2 separate regions of the Homo sapiens genome follow, and region 1 is linked to region 2. The links are contacts of gene promoters, found by promoter capture Hi-C in blood cells and fetal thymus (Javierre and others, 2016). All regions are on one chromosome and are shown on one strand. Each heading gives the region's core, a stretch centred on a gene start or on the middle of the fragment in contact. The rest is flanking DNA. Distances are from core to core; before and after follow the strand shown.

What was found. Contacts are between HindIII fragments. The CHiCAGO score rates a contact against its expected background, and 5 or more counts as called.
Region 1: a fragment that was not itself captured here is called in contact with the fragment with the promoter of SAMD13 in region 2 in 2 of 17 cell types (erythroblasts and megakaryocytes); the score reaches 6.6 in erythroblasts.

What each region holds. Positions count from the first base shown.
Region 1 is chr1:84,159,431-84,164,511 of GRCh38, forward strand. All of the region lies in intron 1 of PRKACB (protein kinase cAMP-activated catalytic subunit beta), which reads left to right. Among named protein-coding and RNA genes, the nearest start is that of PRKACB, 18 kb to the left of the region's middle. The HindIII fragment of the contact is 256 bases long and covers 1,163-1,418 here.
Region 2 is chr1:84,299,837-84,304,790 of GRCh38, forward strand. SAMD13 (sterile alpha motif domain containing 13) reads left to right here and starts at 1,872. Exons shown (of 4, transcript NM_001134663.2): 1 at 1,872-1,965; 2 at 3,367-3,451. The coding sequence starts at 3,399. The HindIII fragment of the contact is 6,789 bases long and covers 1-2,877 here.

The sequences.
Region 1 (5,081 bases), core at 41-2,540, 140 kb before region 2:
TATTGATTTTTATATTGATCTTATATCATCCTATGATGTTGCTAAACTCATTTTTTAGTTCTAGTAGTTTCTTTATAGATTCCTTATAATTTTCTACATATAGAATAATTTCATCTGCAAATAAAGACAGTTTTATTTCTTCTTTATCCTTTAATATCTATTTTCTTGCCTCATTGCACTGGCTAGATTTCCCAGTACAAAGATGCATAGAAGTGGTGAATGCCTTATGCCCTATCTTAAGGGGAAAGCGTTCCATCTTTCATCATTAAATATGACATAAGTATAGAGTTTCCCCTGCCCCACATGTCCTTTATCAGTTTGAGGAAGTTCCTTTCTAGTCCTCGTTGTTGAGAGGTTTTCTCATGGCTGTTGGATTTTGTGGAGTGCTTCTTCTGCATATATTGAGATGATTATTTGGTTTTATACTTTATTAATATAACATAGTTCGTTAATTGATTTTCAATGTTGAACCAACCTTACCTTTCATGGAATAAATCCCACATGGTCATTGTGTATGATCCTCTGTATATACTGCTAGATTAAGTTTGCTGGCATTTTGATAAAAGGTTTTTGCATCAATGTTTGCAATGGATATTGGTCTGTGGTTTTCGTTTGATCTTTGCCTAACTTTGGTATTAGGCCTCTTAGAATGAGTTGGGAAGTGTTCCTGCCACTTCTGAATTCTGAAAGAGTTTGTGTAGGGTTGGTATTATCTTTGAATGTTTCATATAATTAACCAGTGAAGCCATCTCGACTTGAGCTTTTCTTTGTGGGAAAAATTTTAATTACTAATTCAATATTTGTGTTACAGGTTTATTTACATTTTCTATTTCTTTTTTAGTTAGTGTTGGTAATTTGTGCCTAAGAGTTTTTCCATTTCATCTGTTGTCTTATATGATTGGGATAAGGTTGTTTATAGTATTCCTTTATAATCCTTTTAATTTATCTAGCATCAGTGGTGATATCATAGTTTCATTACTGATTTCTGTAATTAATATCTTCTGTTTTCTTTTTGTTCATTTTGTTTTGATATTTGGTCAGTCTAGTGAAAGTTTTATCATAAGACTTTTGGTTTAATTCATTTTTCTCTACTGCTTTTCTATATATTTTACTGAATATATTATATATAATATAATACTATAATATATAATAATATATACAAAGCTTAAGTTACTGATTTGGAACTTTTCTATTTTACTCTAAATGGTTAAAGCTATGAATTTTTTTTCTAAACCTGCTTTATCTACCTCCAATAAATGTAGATATGCTGTAGTTTATTTTCATTTACCTCAAAATATTTTCTAATTTCCCTTGGAATTTGTTTGTGATTTAATATCTAAATATTTAGAGATTTCTAAAATTTCTTTCTGTTTTTATTTATAACTTAATTCTGCTGTGATTATAGAATATATTTTGAAAGCTTTGGCAAACCCTTCAAATTAATTGAGACATTATATTTTCTAGCATTTGCTTAATATGTAGAATATCCATGTGTGCTTGATAAGAATGTGTATTCTGCTGATGTTAAATTCTGTATTTTATAAATGTCAAGATTTTTTTGATGGTGTTATTTAAGTTGTTTGTCTCTTTTCCAATTTCCTGTCTAGTTTTTCCATCAATTATTGAGAGAGAAGTATGGAAATTTCCAACTATTAGTATTAAATATTTTTCTCCTTTCAATTCTGTCCGTTTTTATTTTAGTACTGTGGGGGCTCTTCTGTTCAATGCATATGCATTTCTAATTGTCACATTTTTCAGATGTATTGGCCTTTTATAATTATGAATGTCCCTTTTGTCTCATAATTTTTCTAGACTTAAAGTCTATTTTGTCTAATATTGATATAGGCATTCCAGCTGTCTTATGGTTACTGTTTGCATGATGAATCTTGTTTTCCTGTTTTTACTTTAGCCTATTTATATCTATGAATCTAAAATGTGTCTCTTATAGATGTTATATAGTTTGATCTTGATTTTTATCCAATCTGATAATTTCTGCCTTTTGATTTGTGTTTCTTCCATTCATAGTTAATGTCACTATTGATATGGTTGGATTTGTAGCTTCCATTTTACTGTTTTCTGTCTCATAGTTTTTGTTGTTCCTCTTTTCCCTTTCTACCACCTTCTTTTCTATTACGTATGTTTTAATTATTTGGTTTTGATTTTTAAAAATAAAATTTAAAAGGCATTTTCTTAATATTTCTTTAGAGATTATAATACACAAGATTATAATTTATCTTATCATAGTTTACTTCAGGATAGTACTGACTTAATTCTAGTGGAATAGAACTGCTTTGATCCAATATAGCTTCATTTCTTTTCCAAATTTGTGTTTTTTCACATATATTTATATATTTTATAAACCCAGCAACATAATGTTGTAATTATTGCCTCATACAACTTTAAGTCTCTTAAAGAAATTAAGAGAGAACAGAAAAAATGTGTATTTATATAGCCTTTTATTTATATATTTACCATTTTTAGTGCTCTTCATTTCTTTCTGTCAATTTGAGCTGTTGTCTAGTATTATTTCCTCTCAGCTTTAAGGACTTAGGTATTTCTGCTTACAACAAATATCCTCCGTTGTTTCTCTGGGAATCTTTCATTTCACCTTTATTTTTGGAGGATAATTTTCCTGGATAGAGAAATGTTGGTGGATGGGTTTGCTTTCTTGTTTCTTTTAGCACTTCATTTCTCTGCCTTCTGGCCCTACTTATTTCTAATGAGAAGTCATTAATCATATTTTTCCCCTGGACGTGATTCATCATTTTTCTCTTGCTGCTTTCATGACTTTTCTCCTTACCTTTCAACAATTTGACTATGATATGTCTCAGTGTGGATCTTTTGGGTTTTATTCTAGTTGGCATTGGCTGAGCTTCTTGGATCCATAGGTTACTGTTTTCCATCAAATTGGGACATTTTCAGCCATTATTCCTTCAAATGTTTTTTCATCACCCTTTGTCTCTCTCCTTTTTTTCTAATTCCCATGAGATATATGTTGGTTCCCTTGATATCCCATAAGTTTCTCAGGCTCTGTCCACTTTTCTCCTGTCTTTTTCTGTGTTCTTCCGACTGGATGATTTCCATTGATCTATCTTCCAGTTCACTGATTTGATCTTTTGCTCTTTTAAATCTGCTGTTGGGCTTACTATACTGAGTTTTAAAATTTTGGTTATTATACTTTTCAAATCTGCACTTTTTATTTTTAAATAGTTTTTCTTTCTATATTGAAAGTTTCTATATGTTGTTCATTACTGTCGTGTTTTCCTTTAGGTATTTAACACAATTTTCTTTTAATTATTTTCATATATGTATAATAGCTATTTTAAAGTCTTTAAAGCCTTTGTCTGCTAAATTCTACACCTGGGCCCATTCAGGGACATTTTTTATTGACTGCTTTTTTTCCTCATTGTGGATCACACAAGTTTTTGTCAAAAATGTGTTTTTTAAAATAACATGTGGTAGTAGCTCTGGGTTTTGATTATTTTTTCCCTGAGGGTTGGTTTTGTTTATTTTTTTATTAAAAACTTCCTTTGTCTTAATCTATGGAATCTGTATCCCTCATGATATGTGACTACTGATTTCTCTGCTTAGTTTTTTCTTCTTATTCTAATTTTTATTTTTTAACCTGGTTTCCTAGGGATTGCCCTGTGTCTCTGTAGCTTAATTGTTATTTAATGATTGATCAGAGGTTGTACTCAAACACTGGGACCAGCCAGTGCTGATGGAACTGTGTGCAAATTGAGGAGCACATGCAGTATTTAGGCAGTTCGGAAGTCTGTACCAGCTTTAACTTTCCACTGGGCCCTCTTTCGTGTCCTTTGTGCTTGTCATTACCTCCTAGTCAGATTGCATAGCAAGGTGGGCAGACTGGGTGGCCTGGTGAACTTACGTAGCCTCTGTCTGTCTCATCTTCATTTACCCCATGCTATGTTTCTTGCTATACCACCAATGTGTTGCTTAGCCCTACCAAGGCCATAGCCTTAGACTGTTAATTTCTTTCAGCTTGCTTTTTTCGTTGACAATATCACTAATGAGTTTTTTGGCCTCCACTTCAAATCAAATCAGCCCCCTCTCATGTCAGCCCCTTCCAGAAGTGAAGCTGCTAGTTTTCATGACCAGCCCTACCCTGGTAGAAGTACTCTCCTGACTGAGCTATAAAGGAGTGGGAGCAGCCCCAGGCAAGAACATCTCTGACTCCCACTGTTTTTAGGCAGAGTTCAGTGGTTCGTCACAAATAAATGTTTCTTAATTTGTTGTTTATGACTGCTCGATTTCCAGAGCCATGAAATCATTGTTTTTGATAATTCTGTTCAGCTTCATAGTTGTTTCTTAGGAAGATTTCCTGACTTACTTCCACATCACCAAAAGTCCTGCCTCACATGGCAACTGTTAAAATGGCAAGTTCACGTGCTGAAGTTCTACTTAACAAGGAACCATTCTATAGATTCTTTGTACCATTTTGGTACAAATTTTGGATCTCTGGTAATCAAAACAATCTGTTCACCATGCTACCCAGTCAGCCCACCTTGCTATACAATCTGTCATCTTAGTCCTGTTTCATGTGAGGAATTTTACATTTCTGCAATAATTGCCAGTAACTTTTTTGTGTATTATTTTCTTTTGAATACCACATGGATGGCATCTGACACTGTTTGTAATGCTGAATTTAATGGAAGTTTACAAATAAGTTATTCTATGATTCTCCTTTAAAAATGCAGATATACATATATGTATATAATATTATTCTCTTCCATAACACAGAATGTTTAAATGGTTAACATTTGTGCTGCAGTATAGCTTTCTGGCTCATGAAAAATGAAAGCTATCAGCGATCTCGGCAATAAGATTCATCGCCAATAGTCACTAGCAACAGCACACAGCATTTTAATATCAGTGAGGTCCACAGCTAGCAGTAAGAGCTGGTGTAATTGAAAGACGTTTAGGTGCAATCATTCTGCTGTTTGCTCCTTGCCAGGTTCAACATGGGATTGTGTGAGTATTTGAAGAAAACAGCAATTTTTTCATATCTTTGAAAGATGTAAAAAGCGTAGATTAGTGCTTAAATTTAAGAAATCTGGTAA
Region 2 (4,954 bases), core at 622-3,121:
GTGTAACAGGCAAACTTTTGATCACAGCAGGCCAGATGGGAGGGGATGTCCCTTTGTATATGCAGGAAGAGATGCTTGGAAAAACTTCACAGAATCCTTTCTCCTGTGGCTGTGTCTAAGGAAGAGCTGGGTGTAACTACAGTTTCTTTGCCTTTTCCCCGTCAAGAGTGGAGAGCTGAACATGCTTTTGTTCTGAGCAGCACTGTCAGGACAACCCCAGCTCCCCAAGACACAGAACTCCCAGTCCAACTCGCTTCCAATTTGGATTTACTGGGAGAATAGTTCAGGAATTTCAGATCAAGTCCAAAAGCGTTAAGGAATCTGTTAGTGAAAGAGCTCTTTATCTACATAAAAGTCCATCATTTTGAGATCAGCACTGGTGAAAGATCCACATGCCTGACCCATGCTCAAAAAATACTGCTCAAAAATATTTAATTGGTTCCTAGATTACTATTGTTTGCCTTTTCAAGGGAGCAATGGCAAATATTTGAAATCTTTCTTGGCACTGATCTTCAAGGAAGTCAAAAATTTCTAATATAATTCCTGGAATAAGTAAAGAACAAATTTTTTGACCTTGAAATTCAGGTTCCAAATTTAGATCAAAGGTAATCTCCTAATGTCCTAAAAGATTATTTTTAAAAAGGGAAGCAGGCAGCTTTTTCCTCAGATTCTACCTGAATTCTACAGGATATTACAGCAAGTGATAACTTTTTCCAGGATCTTTCTGGGGAACCTGTGTTCTGTGCCCTGTCTTGAGTGGTTTTGTTGACCATCTTGACCTAAAAGTGTCCAAATGTTGATTGATGTTTATTTCAATGAAGAGGCAACCATGTATGTTTTCTGTGTATGTGCAGAACATTAATGGGATGAGATTATTCTCCTGGAAAAGTGGTTTAAGCCAAGCAAGGGAACTGTGAGAATGACCAGGGTAACTTAAACAAAAGATCTTGCCCAGCCTCTCTGCTCCACCTCCCAGTTTTCTGATTTGGTATTTAGGATGATGGCGGGAGAGACTATGAATTTTGGGGTGGGCATAATGTCTTTCTATTCATATGTAACTAATATAGTACCGGGTACTCATAGATTGTAAGTGTTGGTTAAATTTCTTGAATTATGCTTTTTGTCCAACTGGGATAAACAGTTAAAATTAAACCTCCCAGAACTAATTGTTTTCGTTTTGTAGAATAAGGTTTTGTTTGTTTCAGTTTGAATTTTTGCTGGCTTCATTTGGCAGGATAAATGCCAAAATAAAAGAATGTGGGCGTTTTCAGGAGATCTGGTCATCTATTTTGCATCCTTTCCGAAATATGTTACTTCCTGCATAATGAAGTAAAAGGATTTGCTGCTGGGCAGTGCTTTCCTTATTCTCACAAAGAGATTACTTAAAAGCCAGCCCTGGGAACTTTGTCCATGAATCTCTATTAGGAAAAAAAGAGTAACATGGGACTGCAGCTTCCGAGTGTTCTCTGGTTATAGCCCATAAGCACTGGCTTCTCACTCTTATTTTTCCCTCTGGGGAGAAAAGGAAATAGTTTGAAACATGACATTCATGCTCAGAACAACAGCTAAGACCTATCATGCAGCAACAATGAAGGGGAGGGAGAAAATAAGAAGCTATTGAGACAGCTTGTTTTTCTTTGTACAAGACAGGTGCAGGGAGAATTCTGCAGGTTTTGGACTCCTTACTCATTTCTTGCACTAATTGTGCTGAAGGTAGTTAGCAAAAGTGAACAGGCACACTGTAGCTTTAAAAAGTCAGCCATGAACCAGAAGGCAGTTGGTGCAGCTTGTGTGTGATTCCTAACGTCATGTTGGCTGAGAGCCAGCCTGGTTTTATTTCACTGTGTCAAATTGTACCTCCTTATTGAATTCCTTTGCCAGCCTACTTTGTGAAAGAAAACATTGGGGTTTCTTTGGCTGTTCTTGATAAGCCTATAAAAAATGATATTTTTTAGTTGCTTATAGGTAGGTTTTCTTTTTACTCTTCCACAGAAAAGAAAATAATAGTAATAATAATAAGACAATGTAGTGTGGTGTTGCAGAGTATCATTGTGAGTGTTTTGTTTTGTTTTCTGAGATGCTTAGAAAATGGTGAATGTGTAACAGTTTCCAACTGAAGTGAAATCATATTCTGTTAGCATGGAGCAGCAGCACTATCTTCCTGTCTACTCTCTAACGGTGTGTGAATGTATGCTAATATCTATATATATATATTAAATGTTGGATTTCTCTATCAATGATCTAAGTGGTTTGCAGCTGGAAGTTTGTGTGTATGTGTGTGTTTCAGGAGTGAAAATTATCCCACACTTACAGTGTTATTTGTTAATCATCTACTTCTCTAACAGTGATAAAATCTTGCGAATATACTAAATGATGCACTTGCCATGTCAGAGTAATCCCTAGAGAAGGAGTGCCGAAGTATAAAGTGATTTGAGTGGAAATGTATTTAATTTATGGCTTCAGCTGAATAAGAGCAAACACGTTTCGGGACTGTTTCTTCCTTTTTTTTTTTTTTTTTTCTTAAAGCAGTTTTGTTCGTAGCTTTTTCATTTTGCTAATTGCATATTAATTGTGGAAGGCTTTTAATTTTCCACAGCCCTCATCCTACTAAACAAAAAGACAGAGTGATGGATGCTACAATATCTCCTTAAATGTTTTGATGATTTTTCATAAATCTAATGAGTTACCTACTCTTTCTTACACATACACACACACACACACACACACACACACACACACACCAGCACCACCTTTCTGTGCTAAGGGCTATCTGGCATTTTTTGTGAGCTTCCTGCTTTACCACAGCATGGCCATCTCACAGACGGGTTTTTGAGGCTTTCGTTGAGAATGTGAGGTAGGGGAATACTTGCTGACAAAAGCTTTAAGTGTCCTTCTGCATTGCAATGAAAAAATCTAGGAGCAAGGGGGAGTGGACAAAAAAAAAACCAAACACAATAAGAAAAAACAAATCAAAGCCCATAATGGGAGGGGGGCAGGAAAAGGGGGATTGTTTTTCTCTACTTTGACTCATTTATGAGTTGCAGTGTCTTAAGTGAGAGCTAGGCACCCAGAAGAAGCTGTGCCAGTTCACACAGCACTTGTTTTCAACGAGGATTCAATTTCATTTGCAAATGCTTATTGTCAAGGCAGGGAGTGCCAGTACAGATGAAAGCACCCCAATCCGTCTCCTCCAGTTCTTTAGGTTTAATCACATCTCTCCAATCGCCGAGGGAACTGGAGATTTAAACAAACATACGTGAACTGGTGTGAAGCTGTAAAAGGGACCATTATGTTTCCGATTCAGAATATATATTCTTCTCTCACTTTCTAAGAATTAAACACAAGCTTTTCTCCCTTATTGATTAGTTGCTGAAGTAAAGGAACCCTGCAGCCTTCCCATGCTATCTGTTGACATGGAAAACAAGGAAAATGGCTCTGTCGGTGTAAAAAAGTAAGTGAAGCTGGCTTCTGAGTTCTGCTTCTGCAAACAACAGAGGGACTTAGTTTCTATTTTCGTACTTCTTGCTTATCTACTACAATACACAGTTTGGGGGTCGCCTTGGTTTGTCTACACTGGCCAGCAGCCTCCCTTCTCCCCCCTACCCCAGTTACCTTTTTCTGTATTGCATTTCTAAGACAGAGATGACTCAGACATCAAAATATATATGAAAGGTTTGTGTATCAGGCTTTGGAACAAGGATGGTTGAGGATTTCAGCCCTGCATTCTGTATATTGAAACAAAAACTCCAAGCAGAGACTCTTCCATAGACAACACAGAATGGGGGCAGAAAATAGAGTTCAAATTTTTTTTTTGAAATACAATCACCTCTAACTCTGAAAACTAAGAGCTATAGTGCAGGAAGGGAAAAAGCTTCAGTAAGAATATAGTTTAACAACTCCTCCGTCCTAATTTTATGAACTGTTTAATGAATGTGAAACATTTCTGTGCATACATGGTGTTTATTTTAAAGTCTGTTCTCACATTTGAAACTTGTGTTTATATGTGTCATGTAAGAGTTATATATTTGATTATTTTAAATGGGAAAATTCAATTGCACATGTAACATAATATTTTGATATTTATGAGTATATGAAAAATGTATATTCTCACTTAGGAGTTATAGCAAAGCAATAAGTACTTTGATTACAAGGAGAAAGTGAGTTCCAAGAGGGAGTTATCTGTTTCATTTCTTTCCATATCATTTAGTTTAAAATTGCCGTCAACTTGAGCTTTGGAGGAAACTAATTAAATATAATCCATAGAAGCTGTGATATCTAAATGAGGAAACAGTGTGCTATATGTTTATGAATAGAAGGTATATTTTGCTTCACAGCAAAGTTACATTAAAACTAACTTAATAAAATCTGTTTTTTAAAGTTCTCGGGTAATTTATATATCAGTGCCATACTGCCATGCTGATTACCATCCCTAAAGTTTGGGGTAGGTAGGTGGAGGAGAAATGAAAGAAACAGATGCTGTTTTATGTGTGAGTTAGATCAGTGTTATCCAACAGTACTTTCAACAATGATGGAAATGTTCTGTATTTGTGCTGTCTAAAATGGTAGCCACTAGCCACATGTGGCTACGAAGAATATGAAATGTGACTAGTTTAAGTAAGAAACTGAACTTTTAATTTTACTTAATTGTAATTAGTTTTAAAATTAGCAGCTTTACTGAAGTATAATCCTTGCATAATAAATTGCATGTGTGTAAAGTAAGTTTTGATATTTTTATCCCCTCTTGAAACTACTGCCACAATTAAGATGACAAATATTTCCATCACTTCCAAAATTTCCTTACGACCTTTTGTAATCTCTCCCTCCTGTCCTTTTCTGCCCCCATATCCCCTGGCAACCACTGTTATGCTGTCATTATAAATTAGTTTGCTTCTTCTAGAATTTTATATAAATGAATGTGTATACATCCCCCGCCCCCACACACACACATATAGTT